Linked DNA regions of Homo sapiens: region 1 is linked to region 2. Evidence: promoter capture Hi-C in 16 types of primary human blood cells and fetal thymus (Javierre and others, 2016). All regions are on one chromosome and are shown on one strand. Each heading gives the region's core, a stretch centred on a gene start or on the middle of the fragment in contact. The rest is flanking DNA. Distances are from core to core; before and after follow the strand shown.

Region 1 (4,970 bases), core at 2,200-4,699, 90 kb after region 2:
GACTTTGGTTAACAATATTATTGTATTTTTCAAAATAGCTAGAAGAGAGGATTTTGAATGTTCTTACCACAAAGAAATGATAAATTTTTGAGATACTAATTGTCTTAATTTGATAATTACACACTATACATGTATCCATCACATTGTATTTCATAAGTATGTATAATTATTGTCAATTAAAAATAAAATAAAAAGAGAAAATTAAACTGAAAAGTTTTACAAGCAGAAAAATACTTCAGCTACGTTGAATAAATGAATAAATGAATAAAAAAATTAAGGGCCAGGCGCAGTGGCTCACGCCTGTAATCCCAGCACTTTGGGAGGCCGAGGTGGGTGGATTACCTGAGGTTGGGAGTTAGAGACCAGCCCGACCAACATGGAGAAATCTCGTCTCTACTAATAATACAAAAATTAGCCAGGAATGGTGGCACATGCCTGTAATCCCAGCTACTTGGGAGGCTGAGACACGAGAATCGCTTGAACCGGGGAGGGGGAGGTTGCAGTGAGCCGAGATCACACCATTGCACTCCAGCCTGGGCAACAAGAGCAAAACTCAGTCTCAAAAAAAAAAAAAAATTAAGTAACTTATTTCATAGTTGGTGTACTTTATTCAATAAAATAGTTAAAAGTCTGTTTTATCTGGCCTGGCGTGGTGGCTCACACCTGTAATTCCAGCACTTTGGGAGGCCAAGGAGGGTGGATCACCTGAGGTCAGGAGTTTGAGACCAGCCTGACCAACATGGAGAAACCCCGTCTCTACTAAAAATGCAAAAATTAGCCAGGCGCGATGGCACGCGCCTGTGATCCCAGCTACTTGGGAGACTGAGCAGGAGAATCATTTGATTCCAGGAGGCGGAGATTGCAGTGAGCCGAGGTCGTGCCACTGCACTCCAGCCTGGGCAACAGAGCGAGACTCCGTCTCAAAAAACAAAAACAAAAACAAAAAACCTTGTAATAATAAAGTTAGATTTCAATTTAAAATTGTGTGAGTGTTTTATTTTAAGGAGCTCATGAACAAAAATATTTGAGCTCTGCAGCTCAAAATAACACTTTGAAAATCAGTGACTAAACAATGACTCTTGATGCTACCAAACCTAAATCTTCCTTCTAATAATTATTTTCTAACGGCACCTTTACTAACTTAAAATAAAATGCATAGATAATACAACCTATCTCTACACATAATTTCAAAACATCAATAAAATTTCCTACCTGTAATATAGAAGAGAAATAATAGCCGGGCATAGTGGCAGGCGCCTGTAATCTCAGCTACTCTGGAGGCTGAGGCACAAGAATCCCTGGAACCCGGGAGGGGGAGGTTGCAGTGAGCCGAGATCACACCACTGCACTCCAGCCTGGGCAACAGAGTGAGACTCTATCTCAAAAAAAAAAAAAAAAAAAAACGAGAGAAATAAAAGACAATAACTTATTTTAAAAACAGGTATTTCAATATGTAAATGGTTGGATATAACTGTGATAGAACACCAAAGGAGGCACTCAGCTAATTGTAATTAGATGCTTCCATCTAATTACAGGGAATGAATAAATTTTGATTTAAGAGATCTGAAGCCACTCCATAAAGAAAGATACTGGATTAAACACCAGTGTTAGGATAAGCAATAACAGAACAGATGTATTTATATATATATTTATATATAACACCCTACACAACTGTTTGGTGGAATATTTGAAGACTGTGCAGAACTCAGGATATCTAAATCATGCCGAATTCAGGACATTTATTTGACACCTAAAAGGTATTGCCAGTGTCAAGGTACAAGGATTAACAACCAAAACAAGGTGAAATTCCTTCTCTCATGGAATACATTCTTAATTATGTGGAACTGTCCTCACATTGCAGAGTCTAACATCTGCGGCCTCCAACTACTACAATGCCAGTAGCACCCACTCTCATCACTATAGCAACCAAGAAAATGCCCCTTCCCCTCCACCCCCTCCTGCCTGCCCCCCCACCCCCTCCCCCCACCCCCACTATCTCCTGCGCACCCACCACGGACCAAAATGCCCCTCCAGGAAAAGTACTACTGCTGTTCAGAGCCACTAGCCTGCAGGATGGAGAACAAGAATCTCAGTCCACCAGGTGGTCCTGGCTCCATCTTCCTCTCCAGCCTCCTCTGCAGCCACATATGCCTTCTAAACATATAGAGCTATCTATAGTCCTCTAAGTGGGTCATGTTATTCTATGCCCATGGGTTTTCTGTCAGCCTGAAATGTTTTCTCTTCCCTTGAGTTCTAATTAGTCTTTTTTGAGGCTTACTCAGGCCACTTTTCAATTTAATTTAATACATTTGTTTTAAAGTAGGTACTTTCTGCCCCATTAGATTGTGTATTCCATGAGAAGGAATTTTATCGTCCTTAATCTTTGTACCTTACATTGGCAGTATATTTTAGAATTCAAATAAATGTTTTCTCAATGGATATATGAGTATGGATGAAGGGATTCACTTTATTTTTATTTATTTGGTCATATTTTGAGACAGAGTCTCACTCTGTTACCCAGGCTGGAGTGCAGTGGCGCCATCTTGGCTCACTGCAACCTCCATCCCCCGAGACTCAATCAATCCTCCCACTTCAGCCTCCCAAATAGCTGGGACCACAGATGCACACCACCACGCCTGGTTGTTTTTTGTTTGTTTGTTTGTTTGTTTTGTATTTTTGGTAGAGATGGAGTTTCACCATGTTGCCCAGGCTGATCTCAAACTGCTGAGCTCAAGTGATCCACCCTCCTCATCCTCCCAAAGTGCTGGGATCACAGGTGTGAGCCACCGTGCCCAGCCAGGGATTCACTTTAAAAGAAAAAGAAATTCCTCTGAGACTGCAGGGAAAGGTGGAACAATGGATTCAGGGATAGATTTCGTGACGGATAAATTTAACTTATCTGTTGAGCATTGAGCTTGGTCAGGTATAAACATAACCTGCCACCCATCAGTCTTCATCTGTGCCATGACAAATGTCTCCTTTGTACCTCTTCACAACATCATGGTCAGAGTCCATAACACTCTGCTCCCTTTTGGTTATTTAAAGACTCAGTCCGATATGGCTTAAAACTCCAGTCTCAGGTCCAATGCAGAACTCATCTTAAGCCATGGCTTAAGGAACCTGCGGTGGAGAGAAGAATATGATCCCTTCTATTGATTCTGCTTCTCCTCTTCTAGTTCTCTGGAAGGTTCTCTAGAAGGGTTTTAGCTCCTTGGTGGTTGAGAACTAGGAGGAGGGCAGGGAGGAAAAGAACAACTCTCTTTTTATTTAACAAGGTAGTTATCACAAACCACTGTTTGCTGACAGACCATGCCAACCTGTTGTTTGGCAGATGTCAAAATGCTATCTTTCTTGCACATGGTGGCTCATGCCTGTAAGCCCAAGGCATTGGAAGGCTGAGGCAGGAGGATCACTTGAGCCCAGGAGTTTGAGACCAGCCTGGGCAACGTAGAGAGACCCTGTCTCTAAGAAAATTTTTTTTTAATTAGCCGAGTGTGGTGGCACATAACCTGCAGTCCCAGATACTCAGAAGGCTGAGGCAGGAGGATCACTTGTGCCCAAGAGATTCAGGCTGCAATAAGCCATGATCACAACACTATACCCCAGCCTAGGCAACAGACCCCATCTTAAAAAAAAAGATGCTGGCTCTCTTATGAGACAGTTATGTGAGTTCTTTAGAAGGTCCTACTGGGCTTCTCCACTGAGTTGTGCCCTAATGCAGAGAATCCTGATCCAAGCCATCTCTTTAACCCTCCTAACTTCTGTTCAGTGGCAGCCTTTTGGATGGGTTACCAGCATGATGGCTCAAGCCCGGCGATCTTCCTCAGTGTCCCTTTGATCACAGAAACTCACATACCCTTGCTAAGCCAAACAGAATGAATGCAGACTATTCCACTACTATCCCCTTACTCTGCCCTTCCTCCTTTCTCTAATTGCCTTTCCTCTTCTCAGACAGGTGCGGAGCTGAACAAATCCACTGTCTAAACAGATAGTTTAACCAAGGAATGAGAAATCAATCTCTCTTTCATGTAGATCTCTTTCATACTCCCTTGCTTACTTTAAGGGGGGAAAGGAGGGAAAAGTACTCCCTGCTAGGCTCATGACAGCCTCCCTTCAGTCATCTTTTATCTTATATAGCCTGGGAATGGAGGTGGGGTGGTAAGGTATGGGTTGGCTGGAAGTTGCAGGGCCACTTCTGCTACCTCTTTGTAAGCCCTGGAGAGGAGCTCTGATCCAATTATTAGCAACTCTCTCTAGAACGTGCAGTATTTAGTCCTCTTTGTCCCAGCTTTGGACCCTAGTCACCAATTCCAGGGCAATAGAAAAAAACCTTACTCAACATCCTCTATAATATATTGAAATGAAGGGAAGGTTATATGAAATAAGGAGCTCAACTGCATTCCTCAATGGGGAAGCAAAGTCATCTTTTGAGTGACAGAAGGAACCAGGAGTTTGAAAGTTCAGGCAGAATAAAGAAGACAGAGATAGACTGGAGATAGAACATCAGATGAAAGCCATGTATACTCTCTTTTCCCCATTAAAATATAAAAAGCACATATACATATTATTCCACAACATTTTACATATCATTTCAGGTGCACGTGGATCTAGGAGCTAAAGGATCCCAGATTAACAAGCCTTGGGCTTAAGAGAAAGCAAACAGGAAGGCGAATGTGCATTATTTGTGCATTCGAGAGGAGGGAGTGGGTATGTAGGCAGGCAAAGCCAATGCACAAAAGGAAGGCTGGACATTTAGGGACTTGCATCCACCCAGAAGCCATCCATGTCAGACACCAGTTTGACATGTCATATTATATTCCAAAGTATTCTGACTGCTTGAACACTTTTGTATATTCAGCTTATTTTTCAGTATAATGTTGTGATACATCCTTCTACAGAGTTAATATGATTAATAATTGAGGGACTTTAGAGAAGGGGCCAGAAATTTAATTATGCTTTAAAACGTAGCT
Region 2 (5,206 bases), core at 1,190-3,689:
CACTTTAAACTCACCCATTTAAAGTGTACAATGCAATAGTTTTGTATTTGAATTGTACATTTTAAATGGGTGAATTTAAATGGGCGGCTGCATGGTGTTTGAATTATAGCTCAATAAAGATGCTATTTTTAAAAAGAACTAACCATTGATTCACACAACATGGATGACTCTCAAAATAATCACGCTGAGTGAAAGAAGCCAGATTTTAAAAAGAGTACATTCTGCATAATTCCCTTTATGTAAAATGCTAGAAAATGAAAGTAATCTACAGTTACAGAGAGCAAATCAGTGGCTGCCTGGTTGGGGAAGAAAGGAATGGATTACCAAGGGGCATGAGAAAAATTGTGGGTATATTAGATAAGTTCATTATCTTGATTGTGGTCATGGTTTCATGACTGTATACATTAAAACTAATCAAATTATATGATTTAAATATAGTTGTACATCAACCATCCTTCAATAAAGCTGCAACAAAAAAGCATACTAAAAAGTCACAAGACCTATTTCCATGTATAGATATACATATGCAAATGGCCAGAAAAGTATCTGGATAGATATACACAAAACTAATAACAATAGTTACTTTTGGAAAAGTGGGAGAGTGGGAAGGGTGGGTGAGGCTGGGTATGGAAGAGTGAGGGAAGGGTGAGGCTGGGTATGGGAGAGTGGGAAGGGTGGGTGAGGCTGGGTATGGGAGAGTGGGGGGAGGGTGAGTCTGGGTATGGGAGAGTGGGAAGGGTGGGTGAGGCTGGGTATGGAAGAGTCAGGGGAGGGGGAGGCTGGGTATGGGAGGGTGGGGGAGGACAAGGATGGGTATGGGAGAGTGGGAGGGGTGGGTGAGGCTGGGTACGGAAGAGTGGGGGGACGGTGAGGCTGGGTATGGAAGACTTGGGGGTCCTCTCTGCCTAGGAAGGGTTTGCACTCAGCAGCCTGGGAGCACACCTGTCATCAGTGCTCCCTCACATCTGGCACCACCTGACATGTAGCAGGTCCTCAGTTACTTCTAGGTTCTGGGATGAGTAAGTGAGGGTGGAATAAAAGACGGAAATGGTCTCCTGCAAGGAAGGCACTGAGAGGAACTGTGCTCCACCCAGGCCCAGGATTTGGCATCGTGTCCCATGGGATTAATGACACCGTGCCAGATACCCTGGAACACTAAGGAGAGGTGACTCATGCTCTTTTGCTGGTGAGAGGATTGTGGCAGCACCTGGGGCACTGATATCCATCTAGAATGGTAAAAGAACAAGCATTGTTTGAAACCTAATAGAAGCATACACCTGCTCTGAGCATGGTATAGGGGTCACACTGTTGGGAGGGCTGGATTCTAGCTTCACCTCACCAGAGACCTGTTGTGTGACCTCAGCATCCCCATCTATACAATGGGAGATCCAACAAGTTGGCCTCTGGTCATGTTCCATGCTAATACCCTAGGAGTTCATGAAGTCAAAGCAGCCCTCGCTCTGGCCCACAGAACATAGGGGTTTGGAGCTGGGCCAAAAGCTCCATCAGATTTTAGCTGGGAAACCCACAGGAAGGCAGATTGTGAAGGTCCAATCCACACAGGGTAGCTAATGAAACAGGCCCTGGGCAGGGGACAGGGGAACATGCCCAGCGATAGGCTTCAAGGTCAGCAGCCCTCCAACACACAGCACGGTGTATGCTTTGTTCATGGATACTAGAGTAGGCCTGAAGAGACAGGTCAGACCACTGCAGGCCGAGGACATTCCAGACAGAAGGAATAGCAAATGCGATGGCTCAGAGGCTTCCTTAAAGCCAGGAGAATCTCCACCTGCTCAGAGACCACCTAGCCCACTAGTTCCTCAAAGTGTGGTACCTACATCAGCAGCAGAAGCATCGCCCAGACGCACCGAGTCAGAAACTGGGTTTGGGGCCCAACAATCTGTTTTAACAAACTTTCCAGGTGATTCTGGTGCATGTTAAAGTTTGAGAACTGTTGATCTAGCCTACTGTTTCCCAGACTATGCTCATAGAACACTTATCTGCAGTAGGTTAATGGGTTTTCTGTAAAAGGGGATCCATGATCAAATAAGTTTGGGGTACAGATGTTCTACATTGCTTTGCAGGAGTCATAGATCACATTAGCGTAGTAAACGCTCTGAGAAGTCCTGCAGTAAAGAGCTTTATTTTTTATTAATCCAATGTTGTCTCAAATTGATTTTTCAGATTGCTTACTAATGTTCTCATTAACATTCTCTCAGGGAATGCTGATCTAAATCAATGCTCATTTTTCACATGGATAAACTGAGGCCTAGAGAGGATAAAGGGATTGCCCGACGTCACAGACAGTGAGTGTGGCAGTGCTGGAAAAGATCCTGACAGTCCACCTCGTCCCAGAAAGGGCTCTGTGAGCTTCCCCGCACCCTGTACCCTCTCTCCTTCCATCCCAGCTGTGGACCATCTCTTCAGAACTCTGCAGCATGGAGCCGCTCAACAGAACAGAGGTGTCCGAGTTCTTTCTGAAAGGATTTTCTGGCTACCCAGCCCTGGAGCATCTGCTCTTCCCTCTGTGCTCAGCCATGTACCTGGTGACCCTCCTGGGGAACACAGCCATCATGGCGGTGAGCGTGCTAGATATCCACCTGCACACGCCCGTGTACTTCTTCCTGGGCAACCTCTCTACCCTGGACATCTGCTACACGCCCACCTTTGTGCCTCTGATGCTGGTCCACCTCCTGTCATCCCGGAAGACCATCTCCTTTGCTGTCTGTGCCATCCAGATGTGTCTGAGCCTGTCCACGGGCTCCACGGAGTGCCTGCTACTGGCCATCACGGCCTATGACCGCTACCTGGCCATCTGCCAGCCACTCAGGTACCACGTGCTCATGAGCCACCGGCTCTGCGTGCTGCTGATGGGAGCTGCCTGGGTCCTCTGCCTCCTCAAGTCGGTGACTGAGATGGTCATCTCCATGAGGCTGCCCTTCTGTGGCCACCACGTGGTCAGTCACTTCACCTGCAAGATCCTGGCAGTGCTGAAGCTGGCATGCGGCAACACGTCGGTCAGCGAAGACTTCCTGCTGGCGGGCTCCATCCTGCTGCTGCCTGTACCCCTGGCATTCATCTGCCTGTCCTACTTGCTCATCCTGGCCACCATCCTGAGGGTGCCCTCGGCCGCCAGGTGCTGCAAAGCCTTCTCCACCTGCTTGGCACACCTGGCTGTAGTGCTGCTTTTCTACGGCACCATCATCTTCATGTACTTGAAGCCCAAGAGTAAGGAAGCCCACATCTCTGATGAGGTCTTCACAGTCCTCTATGCCATGGTCACGACCATGCTGAACCCCACCATCTACAGCCTGAGGAACAAGGAGGTGAAGGAGGCCGCCAGGAAGGTGTGGGGCAGGAGTCGGGCCTCCAGGTGAGGGAGGGCGGGGCTCTGTACAGACGCAGGTCTCAGGTTAGTAGCTGAGGCCATCGTATGCCAATGCCAGTGAAGACATGGCAGGGCTGGGGCTACAGGTCTGGTATCTTCATCCCAGCAAGGCAGCACCAAGTCCCGCTGATCCTGCCACAGAACAGCCCCCAAATCACCCTCTGCTCTCAGCATCACCCTGGCCTTCACACCAGCCTCCTGGCTGGTCCCAAGACTTCAGTCCTGTTCCTCCCTCCAATCTCTCCTTCATGGGGCATCTTTTTGAAATGCACATGTGATTGCATCACTCTTCTCACTGAAATCCCTAGGTGGCTCCCCACTGTTCTCAGAACAAAGTGGAAGCTTTTCAGTGGGGCATTTGAGGCCCTCACAAGCTGGCCCTGCCTGACTGGCTCCCCAGCCTTCCTCCCCTCCCACCCCATCTCCCTCCTCACAGCCACACACACCAGCCAGTTGTGGCCCCCACATGCCCTGCACCACCCAGCTCTGTGCTCTCCTTGTTTCTCCCCACGAGGCAGCACCCCCTCCCCTATCCCCAGCACACTTCTCCATATGTAAAAGGACTGACTGCCTGACCCTTCAGGCCCAGCTCAAATGCCACCTCCACCAGGAAGCCACCCCACCTTGCTCCTCTTGCTGTGCCCCTCTGTGTTTTCAGCATTACTCCAAGAGCAGGGAGTGTCAGATTCTACTCTCTCCCAAGGTCCAGCCTTGCCCAACTCTAGGCCCTGCACAAGTTTCTTAAATAGAGATATTAACATGTCAATGTAGGGGTGACAATGGCAGAGCCTAGAGTTCTTCCCAAAACTGAGCAGAGCTGAGACGGAGTCCACAGATGACGAGAATGGCCCAGCTTCCCTGGTAGGTGACAGTAGAGGCAGCAATGAGGCCTGTATTAGTCAGGGTTCTCTTAGAGGGACAGAACTAATAGGATAGAGGAGTTTATTAAGTATTAACTTACACGATCACAAGGTTCCACAATAGGCTGAGGAGCAAGGAGAACCAGTCCGAGTCCCCAGACTGAAGAACTTGGAGTCCATTGTTCAAGGGACGGAAACATCCAGCATGGGAGAAAGATGTAGGCTCGGAGGCTAGGCCCGTCTCTCCTTTTCACGTTTTTCTGCCTGCTTTATATTCACTGGAAACTGATTAGATCATGCCCACCAGATTAGGGTGGATCTGCCTTCCCCAGCCCACTGACTCAAATGTGAATCTCTTTTGGCAACACCCACACAGAACACACCCAGGATTCATACTTTGTATCCCACGATCCAAAGAAGTTGACACTCAGTATTAACCATCACAAGGCCCAAAGTCCAAGATTCCCAGACCTGTCAGGCCCTGGGACACCAATCATCCAGCCCAAAGCCTGAAGCCACCCCATTCCTCCCACCTCACCCCGCCCAGCAGCAACAGCAGCAGCAGCAGCTTCCAGTGCTCCCTTTCTTGGGATCCAGGCCTCACCTGGCTTGAGGAAGCTTGTTTTACCCATCCTCACCTCATGCCCTGGGACCCTGCCATAGTTGCCCCTGCCTGGTGCTCAGCCTCTTCCAGCTTTTCTTTCTGATAACTCAGTGCACAGGCAGTGGACACTGACCTAGATTCACGGAGCATTTCCATTCCCTGCCTTGCCCTGGCCTCCATGGTACCATCTGTACGATGGGAGCACTGGGCTTGCCCTGCAAGCAGCAGTCCACCTTTCCTGCCCCCGGCTACAGGTAAGCACAGCCCCTGCATGAGGCCTGAATTCCCCTCCCAGGGCTTTCTCCCTGCTTCCTCTGCTGGCCAGAACAGAGGCACAGAGAAGCATGGCTAGAG

Evidence for each region. Contacts are between HindIII fragments. The CHiCAGO score rates a contact against its expected background, and 5 or more counts as called.
Region 1: a fragment that was not itself captured here is called in contact with the fragment with the promoter of OR13J1 in region 2 in 1 of 17 cell types (neutrophils); the score reaches 5.6 in neutrophils.

Annotation. Positions count from the first base shown.
Region 1 is chr9:35,778,417-35,783,386 of GRCh38, reverse strand. It overlaps a transcript of RGP1 not described here. Among named protein-coding and RNA genes, the nearest start is that of NPR2, 11 kb to the left of the region's middle. The HindIII fragment of the contact is 8,666 bases long and covers 1-4,970 here.
Region 2 is chr9:35,867,634-35,872,839 of GRCh38, reverse strand. OR13J1 (olfactory receptor family 13 subfamily J member 1) reads left to right here and starts at 2,439. Exons shown (of 1, transcript NM_001004487.1): 1 at 2,439-3,377. The coding sequence starts at 2,439. The coding sequence ends at 3,377. The HindIII fragment of the contact is 7,651 bases long and covers 1-3,732 here.